Regions from separate parts of the Homo sapiens genome. Here all the other regions are linked to region 4. Evidence: promoter capture Hi-C in 16 types of primary human blood cells and fetal thymus (Javierre and others, 2016). All regions are on one chromosome and are shown on one strand. Each heading gives the region's core, a stretch centred on a gene start or on the middle of the fragment in contact. The rest is flanking DNA. Distances are from core to core; before and after follow the strand shown. Region 1 holds the start of SNORD14D (small nucleolar RNA, C/D box 14D). Region 2 overlaps CLMP (CXADR like cell adhesion molecule). Region 3 has its middle 16 kb from the start of SNORD14E. Region 4 holds the start of JHY (junctional cadherin complex regulator). Region 5 has its middle 22 kb from the start of UBASH3B.

Evidence for each region. The method cuts DNA at HindIII sites, captures the fragments that hold promoters and counts their contacts. A CHiCAGO score of 5 or more calls a contact.
Region 1: a fragment that was not itself captured here is called in contact with the fragment with the promoter of JHY in region 4 in 8 of 17 cell types (total CD8 T cells, naive B cells, M2 macrophages and 5 more); the score reaches 8.5 in total CD8 T cells.
Region 2: a contact is called between a fragment that was not itself captured here and the fragment with the promoter of JHY in region 4, in 3 of 17 cell types (naive CD8 T cells, total CD8 T cells and naive CD4 T cells). The highest score is 6.7, in naive CD8 T cells.
Region 3: a fragment that was not itself captured here is called in contact with the fragment with the promoter of JHY in region 4 in 2 of 17 cell types (megakaryocytes and naive CD8 T cells); the score reaches 5.8 in megakaryocytes.
Region 5: a contact is called between a fragment that was not itself captured here and the fragment with the promoter of JHY in region 4, in 2 of 17 cell types (total CD8 T cells and M2 macrophages). The highest score is 6.3, in total CD8 T cells.

What each region holds. Positions count from the first base shown.
Region 1 is chr11:123,058,130-123,060,873 of GRCh38, forward strand. HSPA8 (heat shock protein family A (Hsp70) member 8) reads right to left here. Exons shown (of 9, transcript NM_006597.6): 3 at 2,464-2,669; 4 at 1,987-2,139; 5 at 1,344-1,899; 6 at 930-1,132; 7 at 503-701; 8 at 123-355. SNORD14D (small nucleolar RNA, C/D box 14D) reads right to left here and starts at 866; the gene lies at 780-866. SNORD14C (small nucleolar RNA, C/D box 14C) reads right to left here and starts at 1,293; the gene lies at 1,206-1,293. It overlaps SNORD14E (small nucleolar RNA, C/D box 14E), which reads right to left and starts at 27; the gene lies at 1-27. The HindIII fragment of the contact is 172 bases long and covers 1,246-1,417 here.
Region 2 is chr11:123,103,980-123,108,411 of GRCh38, forward strand. All of the region lies in intron 1 of CLMP (CXADR like cell adhesion molecule), which reads right to left. Among named protein-coding and RNA genes, the nearest start is that of HSPA8, 44 kb to the left of the region's middle. The HindIII fragment of the contact is 4,616 bases long and covers 1-4,369 here.
Region 3 is chr11:123,039,693-123,044,147 of GRCh38, forward strand. No RefSeq gene overlaps it. Among named protein-coding and RNA genes, the nearest start is that of SNORD14E, 16 kb to the right of the region's middle. The HindIII fragment of the contact is 6,954 bases long and covers 1-4,455 here.
Region 4 is chr11:122,880,651-122,885,090 of GRCh38, forward strand. It overlaps JHY (junctional cadherin complex regulator), which reads left to right and starts at 2,109. Exons shown (of 9, transcript NM_024806.4): 1 at 2,109-2,322. RefSeq lists a silencer at 2,228-2,587. The HindIII fragment of the contact is 12,251 bases long and covers 1-3,188 here.
Region 5 is chr11:122,631,031-122,635,667 of GRCh38, forward strand. No RefSeq gene overlaps it. Among named protein-coding and RNA genes, the nearest start is that of UBASH3B, 22 kb to the right of the region's middle. The HindIII fragment of the contact is 2,858 bases long and covers 1,560-4,417 here.

The DNA.
Region 1 (2,744 bases), core at 82-2,581, 180 kb after region 4:
CCGCGAATGTTTTGGACCATTCATCATTGTGACCCTACACTGAAATCCAGCTCAAGCTTGGTTTACCATCCCCTTCCCCTCCATTGAGTGGGGGAGGAAAAAAAAAAAAAAAAAACACAAACCTGATTCTTATCAAGCCAGTTGATAATTTCATTACACTTGTCCAGAATCTTCTGTTTGTCCTCATCGTTAATCTTGCCTTGAAGTTTCTCATCTTCAACAGTTGCTTTCATGTTGAAGGCATAGGACTCAAGTGAATTCTTGGATGACACCTTGTCCCTCTGCTTCTCATCTTCAGCTTTGTACTTCTCAGCTTCCTGGACCATACGTTCAATGTCTTCCTTGCTCAAACGGCCTAGGAAAGAAATTAACTCTAAGTAAAAGCCTTAAATTACCTGTGTATGTGTAACTCTAGTTTCTCTTAGCTAGACGCCCTTAGGCACCAGTAACTCAATTGAAATACCATTATCCCTGTCAAGACCAGATGACAGTGCCTCCTTACCCTTGTCATTAGTGATAGTAATCTTGTTCTCTTTTCCCGTACTCTTGTCCACAGCAGAGACATTGAGTATACCATTGGCATCAATGTCAAAAGTGACTTCAATCTGAGGAACACCTCGGGGTGCAGGAGGTATGCCTGTGAGTTCAAACTTGCCAAGCAGGTTGTTATCCTTTGTCATGGCACGCTCGCCTTCATAAACCTTGGTAGGAAATAAAACAAATTACTACAATGGACTCCAGGTCTGTGACAGTGCTAGGGTCCTGCTAAGGAAGAATGGTCGCTCAAACATCCAAGGAAGGAACTGGCCAACATAAGACTTTCTGGTGGAAACTACGAATGGTTTTGGAATCCATCATCATAGCGAGTCAGTCAAGACTTCCCTTTATCTGTTATCAGTAAGCCAAACAAGAGAAGTACAGAAACATACCTGAATAAGCACACCAGGCTGGTTGTCAGAATAGGTAGTGAAGGTCTGTGTCTGCTTGGTAGGAATGGTGGTATTACGCTTGATGAGGACAGTCATGACTCCACCAGCAGTTTCAATACCAAGGGAAAGAGGAGTGACATCCAAGAGCAGCAAATCTTGAACATTCTCAGACTTGTCTCCAGACAAGATGGCTGCCTGGACAGCTAGCAAACAAAAAGTTAACGTTAAAAGAAGTTAAAAGAAAACCCAGTACATAGCTCCTGTTTTAACTATCACTCGCTCAGACATCCAAGGAAGGTGTTGCCATCATTAGCCAAGCTTTTGGTGGAAACTACGAATGTTTAACAATCACTCATCACAGCGAGTCACCTTGGGCCTGCCTGCCTTTAGGGTTAATTGAGATACCATTGTTACCTGCACCATAAGCAACAGCTTCATCAGGGTTGATGCTCTTATTCAGTTCTTTTCCATTGAAGAAGTCTTGGAGAAGCTTCTGAATCTTGGGGATACGAGTAGAACCACCAACCAGGACAATATCATGAATCTGTGACTTGTCTAGTTTGGCATCTCGAAGGGCTTTCTCTACTGGGTCCAGGGTGCCACGGAACAGGTCAGCATTCAGTTCTTCAAATCGGGCACGGGTAATGGAGGTATAGAAGTCGATTCCTTCATAGAGAGAATCGATCTCAATACTGGCCTGGGTGCTGGAAGAGAGGGTACGCTTAGCACGTTCACAAGCAGTACGGAGGCGTCTTACAGCTCTCTTGTTCTCACTGATGTCCTTCTTATGCTTGCGCTTAAACTCAGCAATAAAATGGTTGACCATTCGGTTGTCAAAATCTTCTCCACCCAAGTGGGTGTCTCCAGCTGTAGACTTGACCTCAAAGATTCCATCCTCAATAGTGAGGATTGACACATCAAAAGTGCCACCTCCCAGGTCAAAGATGAGCACGTTTCTTTCTGCTCCAACCTGCCGTTAAAAACAATCTCATTTAAATTTACGATGGATCAAATTAATCTTAAAATAATCCGAACTTGCATCACAAATGGTACATACCTTTTTGTCTAAGCCGTAAGCAATAGCAGCAGCAGTTGGCTCATTAATAATTCTAAGTACATTGAGACCAGCAATAGTTCCAGCATCTTTGGTAGCCTGACGCTGAGAGTCATTAAAGTAAGCTGGCACTGTGACCACAGCATTGGTAACAGTCTAGGAATAAGGAAAAGACCACAGATTGGTAACTATTATACTTACATATATGCAAACTCCAGCAAATGGATTAATGCTGGTGAAAGAACAGCTGGAGCACCCCCCCCACCAAAATGTAAATTACTGTGTAATTGTCAAGATTCACTGGTTTCTGGTGTTGACAGACCCATCTACCTAGAGAGCCTAGGGCACTGTTGGGCACGTGGTCTTAACCCTGAGCTGAGCCCCATCTGTTCCCCTCCCTCGCCAGGTGCCAGTGCCCCCGGGAGTCATCGGGCTTTTAACTACTCCGGAATGCACCCCATACTGAAAAACCAACCTCACCTTCCCAAGGTAGGCTTCTGCAATTTCCTTCATCTTTGTCAGAACCATAGAAGACACCTCCTCTGGATAGAAGCTTTTGGTCTCTCCCTTGTATTCTACTTGGACCTTGGGCCTGCCAGCATCATTCACCACCATAAAGGGCCAATGTTTCATATCAGACTGGACAACAGCATCATCAAATCTGCGTCCAATCAGACGTTTGGCATCTGTAAAAGGTGTCAAATGAAAACACTTTCAATTTCATAGCTCTTCTGATAAAACTCAAGTCCATGATTACTCAA
Region 2 (4,432 bases), core at 812-3,311, 220 kb after region 4:
CCACCATGCCTGGCTAATTTTTGTATTTTTAGTAGAGACGGGATTTCACTGCGTTGGCCAAGCTGGTTTCAAACTCCTGACCTCAGGTGATCAGCCCGCCTCGGCCTCCCAAAGTGCTGGGATTACAGGCCTGAGCCACCATGCCTGGCTTTTTTTTTTTTTTTTTTTTTTTTTAATCCAGATTCTCCCTCTGTAGCCCAGGCTGGAGTGCAGTGCTGTGATCTCGGGTTCATGAGTAACTGGGATTACAGGGTTGCACCACCCACCGAGCTATTTTTTTTAGTAGAGATGGGGTTTCTCCATGTTGACCAGGCTGGTCTCAAACTCCTGGCCTCAAGTGATCTGCCCGCCTCAGCCTCCCAAAGTCTAGGATTACAGGCATGAGCCACCGCGCCCGGTCCTGGGTTCTATTTTTTTTTTCCCCAGACGGAGTCTCGCCCTGTTGCTCAGGCTGGAATGCAATGGCGTCATCTCAGCTCGCTGTAACCTCCGCCTCCCAGGTTCAAACGATTCTCCTGCCTCAGCCTTTCAAGTAGCTGGGATTACAGGCAGGCGCCACCATGCTCAGCTAATTTTTTGTATCTTTAGTAGAGACGGGGTTTCACCATGTTGGCCAGGCTCGTCTCGAATTCCTGACCCCTTATGATCCACCCGCCTCAGCCTCCCAAAGTGCTGGGATTACAGGTGTGAGCCACCGCGTCCGGCCTCTGTCTTTAACTCCAAGGCTTAGCAGTGCTCATGGGGGCTGCTGAGCTTGTCTGCCATCTGATGGGTGAGAGGAAAGGGGCAGTCTGACCATCCTGTGGCTAGCCTTGGATTGCGTGGGCACTGGAAGATTCATCTTTGTTAGGAAAGACTTTAGAGATCATCAGTTTAACTTATGAGGAGATTGCACCCCAGAGAATTGAGATGTCACGTCACAAAACTAATTAGTGGCAGAATTGCAAGTAAGGGAATAGTCTCTGCTAGGATTCTGTTGCAGCATTTACCTATGGGAAGAGGTGCTGAGTGGTGGCAGTGGTAAGGACTGCCTCCTTAGGCACAGGCAGAATGCCTTCAGGGAAGCCGCAAGCTCTCCCTAAGTGGGAGCTTTTGCATGCACCTCAGGCACTTATCAAAGGACCTCTGGGAGCTTGAGAAAATTACCTTCTGAGCCTTAGTGTTTCCATCCGCAAAATGGGAATTAAAGAAGACACTGAGGAAAGCAGCTAGCATTGTGAAAGCACATAGGAGTCTCCCATTAAAATGTTAGTTCTCTTCCCCTGCTCATCTCTGCTAGAAGGGACTTTTTCTCACATGACTGCTGCCTACACTCAATTAAGAGTAGTTTAAAGTTTTATCCTCTAAAAGGTATTTACATTTATTTCCTTCCCTTCCCTCCCTCCCTCCCTCCCTCCCTCCCTCCCTTCCTTCCTTCCTTCCTTCCTCTCTCTCTCTTTCTTTCTTCTTTTCTTTCTTTCTTTTTTTTTGAGATGGAGTCTTGCTCTGTCGCCCAGGCTGGAGTGCAGTGGCACAATCTTGGCTCACCACAACCTCCGCCTCCTGGGTTCAAGCGATTCTCCTGCCTCAGCCACGTGAATAGCTGGGATTACAGGCATGCGCCACCACACCTGGTTAATTTTGTATTTTTAGTAGAGACAGGGTTTTGCCACGTTTGTCAGGTTTGTCTCAAACTCCTGACCTCAGGTGATCTGCCTATCTTGGACTCCCAAAGTGCTGGGATTATAGGTGTGAGCCACTGTGCCAAGCCGTATTTACATTTTCTCATAGATTCTCCTGAACCTTAAGACCCCCTTCAAAGAGATGGGCAGGAGGAACTGTGGTTTTTGTTTGTTTGTTTTTTGTTTTTTTTTTTTTGAGACAATCTTGCTCTGTCACCCAGGCTGGAGTACAGTAGCGCAATCTCAGCTCACTGCAACCTCCGCCTCCCGGGTTCCAGCGATTCTTGTGCCTCAGCCTCCCGAGTAGCTGGGATTACAGGCCCACGCCACCACGCCTGGCTAATTTTTGTATTTTTAGTAGAGACGGGGTTTCACCATGTTGGCCAGGCTGGTCTCGAACTCCTGACCTCAGTGATCCACCCACCTCAGACTTCTGAAGTGCTGGAATTACAGCTGTGAGCCACCATGCCCTGCTATTATGAGATTTTATTGTGATTTTATTCTATTTTTTTTTTTAGCTCATCAGCTGTTGTTAGTGTATTTTATGTGTGGCCCAAGATAATTCTTCTTCTTCCAGTGTGGCTCAGGGAAGCAAAAAGATTGGACACTCTTGAACAGTTTATTAAATTTGTATGCCTTTTCTCCTATTAATCTGCCTCTTGTCAGTGCTTTTCAATGAACCTTCAGCGGGCAGACGGGAAGTTTTCCCTTCACCCCAGCTACATATATAATTCTGTAGGAGGTGTGTGTGTGTGTGTGTGTGTGTGTGTGTGTGTGTGTGTGTGCGCGCGCGCGCGCGCACGTGCCTGCCTTCCAGATTGTTTATGGAACACTGTATGCAGTTCAAGACACAGCATGATGCAATAGAAAGAGGATGAGCTTTGGAGTCTGAGAGGTCTGGACTTGAGTAGTGGCTGTAAGACCAATTAATTCCCTGATTGCTCCAAGTTGTTTACTTTTCCGTAAAAGGAAAATAAAAACATCAACTTTGGAAGTTATTGTAAGCATTACATATGATGCATGAAAGTGTCTAGCACTGGCGCATGGTATGTAGCACACACTCAGCAAATGGCAACTACTATTAATAATTGTACTTGTGGCTGGGTGCAGTGGCTCACGCCTGTAATCCCAGCACGTTGGGAGGTCGAGGTGGGCGGATCACGAGGTCAGGAGATCGAGACCATCCTGGCTAACACAGTGAAACCCCGTCTCTACTAAAAATACAAAAAATTAGCCCGGCGAGGTGGTGGGCGCCTGTAGTCCCAGCTACTCGGGAGGCTGAGGCAGGAGAATGGTGTGAACCCGGGAGGCGGAGCTTGCAGTGAGCCGGATTGAGCCACTGCACTCCAGCCTGGGCGACAGAGCGAGACTCCGTCTCAAAAAAAAAAAAAAATAATAATAATAATAATTGTACTTGCTGCATTTTTTTTTTTTGAGACAGGGTCTCAGATGCTCTTTCTGCCAGGCTGGAGTGCAGTGGCACAATCATAACTCACTGCAGCCTGAACTCCCTGGGCTCAAGTGATCCTCCCACCTCAGCCTCCCAAGTAGCTGGGACTATAGGCTTTCACCACCATGCCTGGCTAATGAAATTTTTTTTTTTTAATTTAGACGGAGTCTCACTCTGTCACCCAGGCTGGAGTGCAGTGGCGTGATCTCAGCTCACCGAAACCTCGGCCTCCTGGGTTCAAGCGATTCTCCTGCCTCAGCCTTGTGAATAGCTGGGATTATAGGCGCATGCCACCACATCTGGCAAATTTTCGTATTTTTAGTAGAGATGGGCTTTCACCGTGTTGGCCAGGCTGGTCTCAAAGTCCTGACCTCAGGTGATCCTCCCACTTCAGCCTCCCAAAGTGCTGGGATTACAGGTGCGAGCCACCGCACCTGACCTAAATTTTTTTTTTTTTTTTTTTCAGAAACAGGGTTTCACTATGTTGCCCAGGCTGGCCTCAGGCTCCTGAGCTCAAGCAGTCCTCCCGCCTCGGCCTCTGAAAGTGCTGGGATCACAGGCATGGGCCACCACCGTGTTGCATTTTGAAAGACAGGGAAAACCAGAAAACATACCACATGGACAAACCAGGATTGTGAAAAGTTTGGAAGTCATTTTGCTTCATCACTGTTAGCATTTGGCTATATTTGCTCGCTTTTGTGTGCTCTCTCCTATTTTTTTTTTGTTGTACCAGTTGAAATCAAGTTGTGGATGGCATGACACTAAGTCTAAATGTTGCAGTGCACATCTCCTAAAAATAAGCATGTTATTCCTCACAACAACAGCCATCTTAGCACACCTAAGAAAATTGATAATATTGTAGAGAAGGTCATTCCTGACGAGCAATTAAGGAAGACTGCAGTGAGTAAGGATGGAGGTAGTTCTGGAGAGACAGGCATGTTTTTACCACACAGAGGGAGGGAAAAGAATTCTAGACGGAGGGAGCACCTGGAAGCTAATGGCACCACCTGTCCTCTCCGATCAGCTCCCCCTAGCCTCCCTTGTCACGAACTAGTGAAGTTCCTCTGCCATTTGCTTTCCCAATCCCACACCCAGCCCAACCCCAGAACCTCTCCAGTCCACTCCTTTTATGAGAGTCTTCAGAAGAAGAAGACCATATTTACTATGAGCTGCTAAATCCCTGACATTTTACTGTCTTTTTAAATACAAACATATATTTGGTACTTAAACAGTTTAAAGCCTAAAGCCAAAGGAATGAAGCTTGCAAGTTATCAGTGGAATTTCAGACATCTGGGAGTCAATACAGTGCCTAGTTATCTCC
Region 3 (4,455 bases), core at 305-2,804, 160 kb after region 4:
GCATAAGGACACCCAGGAATGAAGTCATTTGCCCAAGGTCACCATGCCACATGGCTACTTCGAAGCAGACCTTATAAATCTCCACAGTGTGGGTGCCCTGGAAGTCTCTCGTGCCCTAAGTGTTTAGATGATACCTGACTGAGCATAAGTCCTGGGGAGAAAGATTCAATCAAAGTTCCAAATCTGATTCTATTCCAGCCAGAGCTGAGTGAGTGTCTGTCTCTCCTTTTCCCTGGGCCTGTCACAATCTCAACAAATAGGCTTTTAAATTAAGTAGTGATTTGGAATGTAAGTGAGTGCATTTAAGATGATAAGAGACGGAGAGATCCTAATGGCTGAAATATTTGTCATATCACAAGTAAACGGAGTGTTTCGGGGAGTCACTAATATAACTAATTTTTTCCAAATCCTCCTCTGCTCTGTGTGGGAAGATGAGGTCAGTGCAGGTTGAGCCAGCCCGGAGTGAGCAGCTGCCAGGGGACTGAAGAGAATACTGATGGATGGCTGAGGCGCCCGGACAGTTCGCCTCAGGAAACCAGAGCCCACTTGTTCAAATTAAGCTATGGATGCCCAACAACCGGTGGCAGGCTGCCACGAATGAAAAGGTGGGGAAATGAATGCACAGCCCAGCCCGCCTCCCCCGGAGAGTGGAGCTGTGCTGTCGGTTTGGGCTTGGCCCCTATGCTGGGGGGTGTCTGAAAGGAAGCTGGAAGTAATCTAACGCAGCTCCCTCCTCCTCGCACCCTGACACCCCATTCTTGAATATCCTCTGCAGCAAGCCCAAATCATTTTAGTCAGACCTCTTGTTGGTGGCTCCTGGAGCCTGGTATCTCACTACCTCCGTGGCAGCCCACTTTCCTTGGCAGATCCCAGAGGTATATTCGGCACTCACTGTCCAAAATGAATAGCCCCCTCAGTTAGGCTTGGTGTCTCGAGTGTTTAGGCTTACAGCCAAAACCCAAGTTCCAGTCTTTTATTTATTTATTTATAAATTTTAAGTTGTCTATTATTTATTTATTTATTATTTTTATATTTATTTATTTTTGAGAAGGAGTCTCACTCTGTCGCCCAGCCTGGAGTGCAATGGTGCGATCTCGGCTCACTGCAACCTCCGCCTCCCGATCAAGTTCCACTACCACATTTGCTCTGCAGCCTTCAGGCAGAAACAATACCTTTGCTGAGACGCCTTCTTCGTTTGTAAAAATGGGAATGACATTTGCACCATGGCTTTTCACAATGGCAAGTGCTGGTGGAAAGAGAGAACTGGTCATTTCACCTGAACCTCACATTAATTTGGGGCCTTAAGTTTAGATTTTGACATTATCTTAAAATAAATACACATTCAGGCCAAGCACGGTGGCTCACACCTGTAATCCCAGTACTTTGGGAGGTCAAAGTTCCCAAAATCCTCCCATGTTTGGGAGGCTGGTCAGAAGTTCAAGATCAGCCTGGCCAAACATGGTGAAATTGTCTCTACTAAAAATACAAAAAATTAGCCGGGTGTGGTGGCACGCGCTTGTAATCCCAGTTACTCAGGAGGCTGAGGCACACGAATCGCTTGAACCCGGGAGGTGGACTTGCAGTGAGCCGAGATTGTGCCATTGCACTCTAGCCTGGGCGATAAGGTGAGACTGTCTCTCTCACACACACACACACACACACACACGCACACACACACACACACGCACACACACACACACACACACTCAGCCAAAGAGAAATACTGATAAGACTAAAAGGAAATGATCACCCAGGAGCAGTGGCTCATGCCTATAATCCAAGCACTTTGGGAGGCTGAGACCAGTGGCTTGCTTGGGCCCAAGAGTTCCAGACCAACCTAAGCCACATGTCAAAACCCCATCTCAATTAAAAAAAAAAATAGGAGATGTTCCTCGTTGGAAATGTATGAGTCATTTTTGGGCCACCCCTTCTGCAGCACACACTAATGGGATTTTTAAAATACATTTTTGTCTAGGACGAGTATTTAGCATTGCATTTTTTAGGTAGTTTGTTTGTTTGTTTTAAGACAGCGTCTCACTCTGTCATCCAGGCTGGAGTGCAGTGGTACAATCACAGCTCACTGTGGCCTTGACCTCCTGGGCTCAAGCCATCCTTTCACCTCAGCCTCCCGAGTAGCTGGGACTACAGGCACATGCCACCACATTTGGCTAATTTTTTAAACTTTTTGTAGAGATGGGCTCCCACTATGTTGAACTCCTGGGCTCAAGTGATCCTCCTGCCTGGGCCTCTCAAAATGCTGGGATTACAGGCAGGAGACACCATACTTGGCCAGCATTGCGTTTTTGTTTACTTTTTAAAAATTTTTTTGTAGAGATGGGATCTGGTTTTCTGCCCAGGCTGGTCTCAAACTCCTGACTTCAAGTGATCCTCCTGCCTCTTCCTCCTAAATTGCTGAGATTACAGGCATGGACCACCATACCTGGCCAGCATTGCATTTTTTTTTTTTTGAGATGGAGTCTCGCTCTGTCACCCAGACTGGAGTGCAGTGGCCAGATCTTGGCCTCCCCCCGGTTCACGCCACTGTCCTGCCTCAGCCTCTCGAGTAGCTGGGACCACAGGCGCCCACCACCACGCCCGGCTAATTTTTTGTATTTTTAGTAGAGACAGGGTTTTACCGTGTTAGCCAGGATGGTCTCGATCGCCTGACCTCGTGATCTGCCCGCCTCGGCCTCCCAAAGTGCTGGGATTACAGGTGTGAGCCACCACGCCCAGCCCAGCATTGCATTTTAAAAAGCATTCACTCTTCAGAGAAATGTGAGAAAAAAAGAAAGAAAAATAAATAAGTAAATAAAATAAAAGCATTCACTCATTAAATATAAAGTTTTAAATATATCACAATTTTTATAATCTTGGTTTGACATTTCTTAATATCCTAAGAGCCTAAAAAAATGTAAATATTCCAGGTTTCTGTCTAAGAGGTTCTGTCCTTGCCTCCTTGTGACATTATTGTTGCAATCAAATAAGATTAGAAATGTAAAATCAAGCCAGGCGTGGTGGCTCACACCTGTAATCCCAACACTTCGGGAGGCCGAGGCAGGTGGATTACCTGATGTCAGGAGTTCGAGATCAGCCTGGCCAACATGGTGAAATCCTGTCTCTACTAAAAATACAAAAATTAGCTGGGCATGATGGTGCGCACCTGTAGTCCCAGCTACTTGGGAGGCTGAGGCAGGAGAATCACTTGAACCCGGGAGGAAGAGGTTGCAGTGAGCTAAGATCATGCCATTGCACTCTAGCCTGGGTGACAGAGCAAGATTCTGTCTCAAAAAAAAAAAAAAAAAAAAACCACAAAATATAAAGTCAGTTTTTCATAAAAAGGTTCTGTATATTATATAAGGTATTTAAAATAGTCAAATTCATAGAAACAAAAAGTATCACAGTAATTGCCAGGGACTTGGGGGTGGGGAAACTGATAATCTGTTGAATGGGTTCATTCTGCAAGATGAAAAAGTTCTGGAGATGAGTTGCACAATGATGTAAATATACTTAACACTACTGAACTGTACACTTACCAATGATTAAGATGGTAAATTATATGTTATGTGTGTTCTACCACAGTTAAATTTTTTTACTCTTAAAAATTTTTTTAAGTTGTCTATAAATTAGTTGCTGCTGCTATTTTTTATTAATACTACTAACAGTAATTATATACTGTCTTTCTTTAAATATGTATTGAGTATTCACTATGTGTCAGGTGCTGTGTAGACCCTAGAGAGCTTTTTAACTTATATGGTGAATAAATATAATATGATGGCCAGGCACGATGGCTCACATCTATAACCCCAACACTTTTGGAGGCCAAGGTGGGAGGATTGCTTAAGGCCAGAAGTTTGAGGTGACCAGCCTAGACAACATAGTGAGACCATGTCTCTACAAAAAACATTAATTAAAAACTTAGCCAAGTGTAGTGGCACACACCTGTAGTCCCAACTACTTGGGAGGCTGAGGCAAGAAGATTGCTTGAGTCTAGGAATTTGAGGCTACAGTGAGCTATGATCAATGACACCACCGTCCTTCTGCCTGGATGACAGAGTGAGCTCTTGTCTCTAAAAAAAAGAAAAGAGGGTCGGGCACAGTGGCTCACGCCTGTAATCCCAGCAATTTGGGAGGCCGAGGCAGGTGGATTGCTTGAGCTCAGGAGTTCAAGACCAGCCTGGGCAACATACCTGTCTCTACAAAAAAATACCAAAAAAAAAAAAAAAAAAATTCAGCCAGGTGTGGTGGTACACACCTATAGTCCCAGCTATTCAGAAGGCTGAGGTGGGAAGATCACTTGGAGCCTAGGAGGTAGAGGTTGCAGTGAGCTGAGATCACACAACCGCACTCCAGCCTGGGTGACAGAGTGAGACCGTGTCTCAAAAAAATAAAATAAAATAAAATAAAATAAAATAAAATAAATAAAGATATGATTTCTTCATTTTAAACTACAAAACA
Region 4 (4,440 bases), core at 859-3,358:
ACAGCATCAAAAGTAGACAAGTGTGAATGACTCAGCATTGATTCTATAACATATTCTGGAAGCCACTATTAGGACTAAATCCTTTTGCTTGAAATTTGCTTGCATGTTTGCAGTTGCTATAATAATACCTTGTATAATATACTGGGCAGAATAACACTAATGGTTTCAGCTACGTTGCTTTTATTTCTTCTACAGACATTGAGGTCCTACTGTGTACTCATAAGACAAGGTCCCTGCTGCCAAAAAAGTAAAAAAAAAAAAAAAAAAAAAAAAACTAACTCAAATAAAAAACAGAATAAAAAGTGCTAAAGCTGGGTAGTAAAGACATTTTCCAATTTCCTGTGTTTCCTATCATTAATGAGGCAACTGGTATTGAAGCATTCTTTTTTTATTTTATTTTATTTTTTTGAGATGGAGTCTCGCTCTGTCACCCAGGCTGGATTGCAGTGGCACATCTCAGCTCACTGCAACCTCTGCCTCCCCGGTTCAAGCAGTTCTCCTGCCTCAGCCTCCCATGTAGCTGGGACTACAGGCGTGCACCACCACGCCCAGCTGATTTTTGTATTTTTAGTAGAGACGGGGTTTTGCCATGTTGGCCAGGCTGGTCTTGAACTCCTGACCTCAGGTGATCCACTCGCCTAGGCCTCCGAAAGTGCTGGGATTACAGGCATGAGCCACTGTGCCTGGCCGAAGAATTCTCTTTTTTTTTTTTTTTTTTTTTTGACAAGGTCTCACTCTCACCCAGGCTGGAGTGCAGTGGCACAATATTGGCTGACTTCAGCCTCAACCTCCTGGGCTCAGGTGATCCTCCCACCTCAGCCTTCCAAGTAGCTCGGACTATAGGCACGCGCCACTACGCTCAACTAATTGTTAAAAATTTTCGTAGAGACAAGGTTTTGCCATTTTCCCCAGGCTGGTCTTGAACTCTTGGGCTCAAGCAATCCTCCAGCTCGGTTTCCCAAAATGCTGGGATTACAGGGTGAGCCACTGCACCTGGCCTCAAACCAATCTTTGAAGGTAGTTATTCAAATCTACTTGTTGTTTTAATGTGAAGATAATTCCTAATGCTTCCTTTCTTTATTCTTTTTTGAAACCTTTTTTGATAGTGAAATATTCTACCCATACATAAATGTACAGCTTAATGAATTTTTACAAGATGAACATCTATATAACCATCATTAAGGTCAGGAAATACAGTCTCAAAAACATTCTTCTCCCTACCTGCCAGAACCGACCACAATCCTAACTTGATGGGAATCACTAAGTGGGTAGTGTTTCCCATAAAATTGCTTTTTTGCTTTTTTTCATAGTTTCCTCCACTAAGTATGGAGCCACAATCACTGTAGAGTGTAATTTAGCCTGTTTTTTATATACAAAAATCATACAGTATGTACTTTTTCTGGGTTTTTGTTGTTGTTCAAAATTGTGTTTTTAGTATGCCTCCATATTGTTACACATAGTTGTATTTCATTCATTTACAGTGCTATGTAGTATGCCAGTATAGGCAATAGCATAATCTAATTAACCATTCTTTTGATGGATAGTTCAGTTATTTCCAGTTTGCATGCACAGGAGCACGCACTTCTTAGGGTAAATACCTAAAAGTGAAATTGCTGGATCCCAAGGCATACATATCCTGGCTAATGTCAAACCATTTTCCAAAATGGTTGGTTGCATCGGTTCTCACGTCCGCCCGCAGAAGGTGACGGTTCTTTGCACTACGTCCTCCCTAGCACCTGACGCTGCCAGACGTTTCAACTTTGGACTTTTCGACTCAACTTATGGTGAGTGTGGTATTATCCGCTGTGGTTTTAATTGGCCTTCTTCTGATTATTAATGAATTAAAGCATCATTTCAATAAACAGATATTTATTGGCCATTTAGATTTCTCGTGTGTTTGTGAAATACCTTTCCATTTACCCATTATTTAATTGGGTTCCTTTTCTTCTTGATTTGTAGCAGTTCCTCGCGTATTTTAGTAGTTTTATTTGTGGCAAAGATCTCCTCCCCCGGGTGGCCTCTGCCCTCCGGCGCTGGGAAGTCCGGGCGGCGAGGCAGCCTCTCCCGGGGCGTTCGGGCTCCTCCGGCTCTGCCCCGATGTCGTTATTACGGCCGTTTGCAGCCTCCGTGCCAGGGCCGGGGGTGCGGTTCGGGACGCGGGATCCTAGGTCGGGTCCTGCCCCGCCCATGTGGCGCCGGCGTCTGTGTTGTCTGCGGTCTCCAGGGCAGCGCCGGGGCGGGCGGGGGCCCGGGCGGCGGCGGCGGCGGCGCGGGAGGATGCGGGGCCCGTCCGGGTCGCGGCCGCGGAGGAGCGCCGGGCAGGTGACGGGCGGTGGCCTCCCGGATCTGGGGTGGGCGGCGCGCCCGGGGAGGGAAACGGGAAGGGCTTACTGGGGATGGGGACGGCAGGAAACCACCCAAGCAAGCTGGGGAGGAGCCGGCGCGGGAGCCTTCGGGACGGAGTGGGGAGCGACAAGGGGGCGAGGCCGCGACAAGGGGCTGGGGGGCCGCCATGCGAGGCTTCGGCGCCCGGGCACCCAGAGCAGCCCTGTTCCCGGTCAATTAGGACCGGTCCCGGGCACCAGGCCCGCCGACTTGTCACTTCCTGGACCTCCAAACGCCCCTTGTGACAGGCCTTGTTCCTCAGGAACAAGCAAAGGTAGAAAACCGAACGCCTCCCCTGGGCAGCTTCCGGCCTGTTTCAAACCAGGGTTCGTTCCTTTTTCTTTACGATTCATCTTGGTGAGCCCAAGCAGGGTTCCTTTTCCCCTCCAGGAGAAAGTTCGATTGTCCCATGCTAGTGGACTAGACCCACTGCAGGGATCCCTGGGGAGCTGGCCGCTTCTTAGTCCCTAGGTGCCATCGGATCTATCGCTGTCTTGTTTATTCAGGAGACTAGTCACCTCTCTTGGTCAGAAATTTCAGCGGCACAACCTTTTTTTTTTTTCACTGGACGGGAGGAGGGAGCCACATTCATGAAATTTAAACGCCCACTTTCTAACTTATTCAAGCTGTCAGCTGTTCCTTCTTCCACCCCATGTTTTGGTAAGATCAGGCCTCCACAGAAAACCCAGCTTTTGTGGCGTTTGGCTTTGCTCTTTGCATACTTTAGCAAACTTCAGGAATCTGCTAACATCAGCAAAATTATCTTCTGTGGTTACTGTTTTATTTTTTATTCATTCCAAGAAAGCTTAGCCTATTTCATTTAAGAAGAGAAGTTCAAGGGACTGAATTATTTTAAGAGTAATTCTAAGTTGCACTATAACGCTTAAGCTTGCTCTTCAGGATCTCAAATTCAGTGACCTTAGCTCCTCCAGTAAAACCGGTGTTAAACAATCTCTTTTACTTAAAATGTGTTAGTATTTGATAGATTTGCTGCTTTCTTGGCACATCCTAAAAAAGCAACAATTAAAATAATAAGGCAGAATGCAATATGTATTTTAAAAATAAGAGACAAAATAATACAACAAACCAGTCTGTAATATTAGAGAATAATATGTTAGTCTACCAACAGGGCAGACTTCGAGTTCAATAGAAAACTCACTTCGTGTGTATTTACATATGAACGTTCCCTTTTGCCTGTTGTTTGTTAAGGTGCTTTCCTCCAAGGATTTGATGATGCTCCTTGCAAACATTAGCAACAAGGTCAACATTATAAGCAATCCTAGGAATAGTAATAAGGTTGTGTCATTTAATTAAAGTTAGGATTTGCCAAAAGAACAAGAGCAAGCCATTAAGACAAATTTTACAGCAATTTCTAATGGTAAAGGTTTCTGTTACCTGACTCACAGAAAAAAAAAAAATGGGTATAAAGGCAGTGAGATAGAAAATAGACCAAAATAGAAATGCTAGGTAGAGATGAAAGGAAGCACAATCCAAAAACATCATGTCCGTTCGGTCCTACATGAACTCAAAGCACCCTTTCCATGGCTCTTTATAATGACCCTTACAGACAGTGCAGGTTCACTTGAATCACACTCGTAAGTGAGTTGGAAGGGACTCCAGCTAACTCTTAGCTGTAATTCAGGCCAATCTCCCACCCACTCAACTTTCCCCAGGATAGCATCCCGTTCGGTAATGTAGACCTCCAGGCTCTGCTTTGGATCGCTCAGTGGCAGAATTCACAAGACCACTAAATCTTTTGTTGAACAGTTTTATTTATTTTTTCTGATAGGGTCACGTTCTGTTACCCAGGCTGGAGTGCAGTGGCACTCCAGCTCACTGCAGCCTCTGCCTGCCCGGCTCGAGTGACCCTCCTCCCACCGCAGTCTCCCGAGTAGCTGGGACTACAGGCCCATCCCACCATGCCCACTAATTTTTTGTATTTTTTTTTTTTTTTTGTAGAGATGGGGTTTTGCCATGTTGCCCGGGGTGGTCTTGAACTCCTGGACTTAAGCGATCTGCCCACCTTGGCCTCCCAAAGTGCTGGTATTACAGGCG
Region 5 (4,637 bases), core at 1,739-4,238, 250 kb before region 4:
AGTGGCAGCACATGCCTGTAATCCCAGCTACTTGAGAGGCTGAGGCAGGAGAATTGTTTGAACCTGGGAGGCAGAGGTTGCAGTGAGCCAAGACCGCACCGTTGCACTCCAGCCTGGGCAAAAAGAGAGAAACTCTGTCTCAAAAAAAAAAAAAAAAATTATATCATGAGTGAACTGAAGTTTTTATCATAGAAAAATCAGATTCAGATTCAAAAGTTTTCCTTCTTTTTTTTTTTTTTTTTTTTGATATGGAGTCTCGCAGTGTTACCCAGCCTATAGTGCAGTGGCTATTCACAAGCATGATCATAGCTCACTCCAGCCTCAAACTCCTGTGCTCAAGCAATCCCCTTGGCTCAGCCTCCCAAGTAGCTGGGAACATAGGCACATGTCACCATGTCTGGTTCAAGAGCTATCTTGAATCTACAAAGAGCTTGAATATGTGCTGGGCTGTCGTGTAGAAAGCAGGTTTAAAAGAGTTTTCAATTCCTCCAATGCATAGGTTTTAGATCTAAAGGGACAAAAACTGTAACCCCATACAAAGATTTCTGGGCCAGGCACAGTGGCTCGTGCCTGTAATCCCAGCACTTTGGGAGGCCAAGGCAGGAGGATCACTTGAGGCCAGGAGTTTGAGACCAGCCTGGGCAACATACTGAAACCCTGTCTCTAGTCACAAAAAAAAAAAAAAAAATAAGATTTCTGTCTGAAATAGCTGCCTTGATAAGTGTTGCATTCCCCAGAACTACAGTTGCTCTGGCAAATGGGGAATGACCTTTGGCAGGGTTGTTGTCAGCAAGTTCAGTCCTGGGCTGGATGCTTGCAAATTAAAATTCTAGTCGGCTTTGTTCTATTACTTACTGTGAATATTATCAAAGATGTACTGATCCTCTCGAGAGCATCATGGTGGGTTAAAAAGAGGAAAAAGGGGGTACAAAGAAGTAGAGAACCAAATTTCTTTCTTTGAAATATTTCCAGTATCCTCAGGCAAACAAGATACACAATTCAACTTAATACAATAAATATTTACCAAAGCTGACTTTGTGGTCAAGCCTAGGCTTGTTGGTAAAAATTCAAAGAGGAATTGAGACAGCCCCAAGAATCCTGGAAAGGTATATATTAGAACAAGTAGTATAAACAACAAGATGGTGTATGCTAAGGGTTCAATGAATTTTTGCACTGCACGTCCCATATGAATTCAGAGGAAGGAGAAATCCTTTATGTTGAGCAGAAGCATGATTACGTATAATCAGTAGTGCCTTAGCAAATACTTTGTACACACAACTTGCCCTACTAATTGCAATAAAATGTGTTTATATCTTGACCTGAGGACTTGCTACAAGCAGGGTCGTAGGACAGAAGCAGCAAGCAGGCACTTGCCAGACTTCAACCGCAAGAAGAAAAGCCAAGACCTTCAAAGCCTTCCGGAGCGGGGACAGTAAAGGAAGGAAGACAGGGAAACAGGATATAAGCAAAGGGGTCCTCTACTGGGCATAATGATGGGTTAAAATGATACTTTGACTAATTTGTCATTTTTTAAAATTTTGCTTTGTCATTATGTAGGAAGCTTAACAATTACTCAATCCTTTGATAAGTTCACAGCACATCCAATTTGCCTGGATTACATCTTTACTCACTTTTCAAGAATTTCTGGGCCAGACGCAGTGGCTCACGCCTGTAATCCCAGCACTTTGGGATGCCGAGGCGAGCAGATCACCTGAGGTCAGGAATTTGAGACCAGCCTGGCCAACATGGCAAAACCTCGTCTCTACTAAAAATACAAAAATTAGTCAGGCATGGTGTCAGGTGCCTGTAGTCCCAGCTACTCGAGAGGCTGAGGCAGGAGAATCGCTTGAACATGGGAGGTAGAGGTTGCAATGAGCTGAGATCTTGTCACTACACTCCAGCCTGGGCGATGGAGCAAGACTCCATCTCTAAAATAAAATAAAATAAATAAAAATAAAAAAGAATTCTGTCTTCCTTAGAAAAAGAAGTGAATAGGAAAGGAAGTACATTTTTTAAGACTCTACATCGGACACTTTATATACATTATCCTATTTTCTCTTGAAAATGAGTATTATTATCACCTCTACTTAATCAATGCAGAAACTAATACACAAAAGTGTAATTAACTTGCCCCAGGTAATATCGCTGAGAAATAACAGTTCGAACTCAGATCCATCTGGCTACAAAGCACGTGGTTTTAAACGACCCTACACTGATTTCCCATTGTCTTCTGTATGTACACCTAGCTATTGATGGTGATGATGATGGTGATGAGGAGAATATTGATTGCAATATGCTGATTAACTCAATTACAGAATCAGGTTCTCATGGTTCTAGAACAGAAGCAAGACAATGTTAACAACCAACACAAGAGGGACCTGTAACACCAGACTATAGGGAAATAGAGAGTTTCTAAAGCCAGCCGGCCCATGCCTGAATCCCAGGAGAGAAGCAGTCCTCGCAACACTGTTGCTGCTTCCAATACAGAGAGTTCAATATTGCATTTTAATCCGTAACTGATCCTCTGATTAATTTTAAAAATTTATTTTTATTTTTATTTTTTTTAGAGACAGGGACTTGCTGTATCACCCAGGCTGGAATACAGGGACGTGATCACAGCTCACTGCAACCTCAACATCCTGGACTCGTGCAATCCTCCCACCTCAGCCTCCTGAGTAGCTGGGACTACAGGTGTGTCACCAAGCCTGGCTAATTTTTTAAGTTGTCTGTAGAATCGGGGTCTTGCTATATTCCCCAAGCTAACCTGGAACTACTAGCCTCAAGTGATTCTCCCACCTCAGCCACCCAAAGTGCTGGGATTACAGGCGCGAGACACCACATCCAGCCATTTCATTAAATTTAAATGAGTCTGTTAATAAGACATTAAGAGGCTGGGCGAGGTGGCCCTTGCCTGTAATCCCAGCACTTTGGGAGGCTGAGGGGGGCAGATCACTTGAGGCCAGCGGTTCGAGACCAGCCTGGCCAACATGGAGAAACCCCATCTCTACTAAAAATTAAATAATTAGCCTGGCATGGTGGTGGGCACCTGTAATCCCAGCTACTCAGGAGGCTGAGGCAGGAGAATCGTTTGAACCTGGGAGGTGGAGGTTGCAGTGAGCCGAGATCGTGCCACTGAACTCCAGCCTGGGTGACAGAGTGAGACTTTGTCTCAAAAAAAAAAAAAAAGACTTTAAGATGGAATTTTGCATGGATTTCAACAAAACTACATGTGGCTTCATCATATGTGACTTTGTTTATTTTTATTTTATTTCATTTAGATTTATTTATTATCTAGATTAAATACAGAAACAATTTTTATGAAAAAACATTTTTAAGTAAACAATCCAAGGCATCTATTTTGAATGGAAACAAGGAATTTTCAAATTTAATCCCAATAACAAATCCAGCATTCTCATTAAAGAAAAGATAGTCAAATAAGGTCACTATGCTCCTGGCTGAACTGTGTGTTTTCAGGAGTGGGAGCGAGTGAGAGAGGGAGAGGATCAAATATAAAAAATCCAGAAAAGAGAGGGGAAATAGAATGAGAAACAGATGGTCTCAGATTTCCAAACCGGAACATTTTTTTTCTTTTTGGGGGTTGGTTAGTTACCATTTGTAATCTGAACCAAAAAGAGGAGGCAGTTACAATTGCCTTTTAGTGACAACTCACACAGCTGGTGGTGGCTGGAAGTCAGGCCAGCAACTTCCTGGATGCAGGGTAAGGCGAGCTCCAGGCCCTTTGCCCCACCCCACACGCGGTGCCGGCTACTGTTCCTACCGCTCCTGGTGCCTTCCAGTTTAGGGCTTGGTTCAGGCTGACTGAGAGTATCTCTGGTCCCACGGAGCCAGCCTTGGTTTGGGCCCTGTGTGTGGTTTGTTGTTGTTGTTGTTGTTGTTGTTGTATTGTTTTTTGTTTTTTGAGACAGAGTCTCCCTCTGTTGCCCAGGCTGGAGTGCAGCGGCGCGATCTCAGCTCACTGCAACCTCCACCTCCCAGGTTCAAGCGATTCTCCTGCCTCAGCCTCCCTAGTAGCTGGGATTACAGGCACGCACCACCACACCCGGCTAATTTTTGTATTTTTAGTAGAGACAGGGTTTCACCATGTTGGCCAGGCTGGTCTCGAACTCCCAACCTCAAGTGATCCACTCACCTTGGCTTCCCAAAGTGCTGGGATTACAGGTGTGAGCCACCGTGCCCAGCCCTGTGTGTGGTTTTTATACTCAGCCCTATCTATAGTGTGCTGAGCACAGAGGCCCCCGGTCCAGGGTGGAGTAGGGTATATGGTGTGTCTTTGGTTCGAAAGAGAAGCGTTTACATCTGTCAAGTCCCACTTCCATATTTCCAGTTTGCTGCCATGACACTTTCTTCAACATATCCGAAATAAATTTAGCAAACTCCTCTCTTCCTGTCCTAAATAAGCTTCTCTTCTTGAATAACCAGTTTCTGAGAATGGCATTACCATTTTCTTAGTCCTGTAGACTCAAACATTTCTCCTTAATGTCCCATATCTAAGTTGTCTCAATCTTCTAGAAAGGGTGGATTTACTTCCAAAATATCTCTTTTACCTAATTTTTCATTTTTAACTGTACTGCCAACATCCTATTCAAACAATTTCTCAACATCAAAAGTCAGTCCTT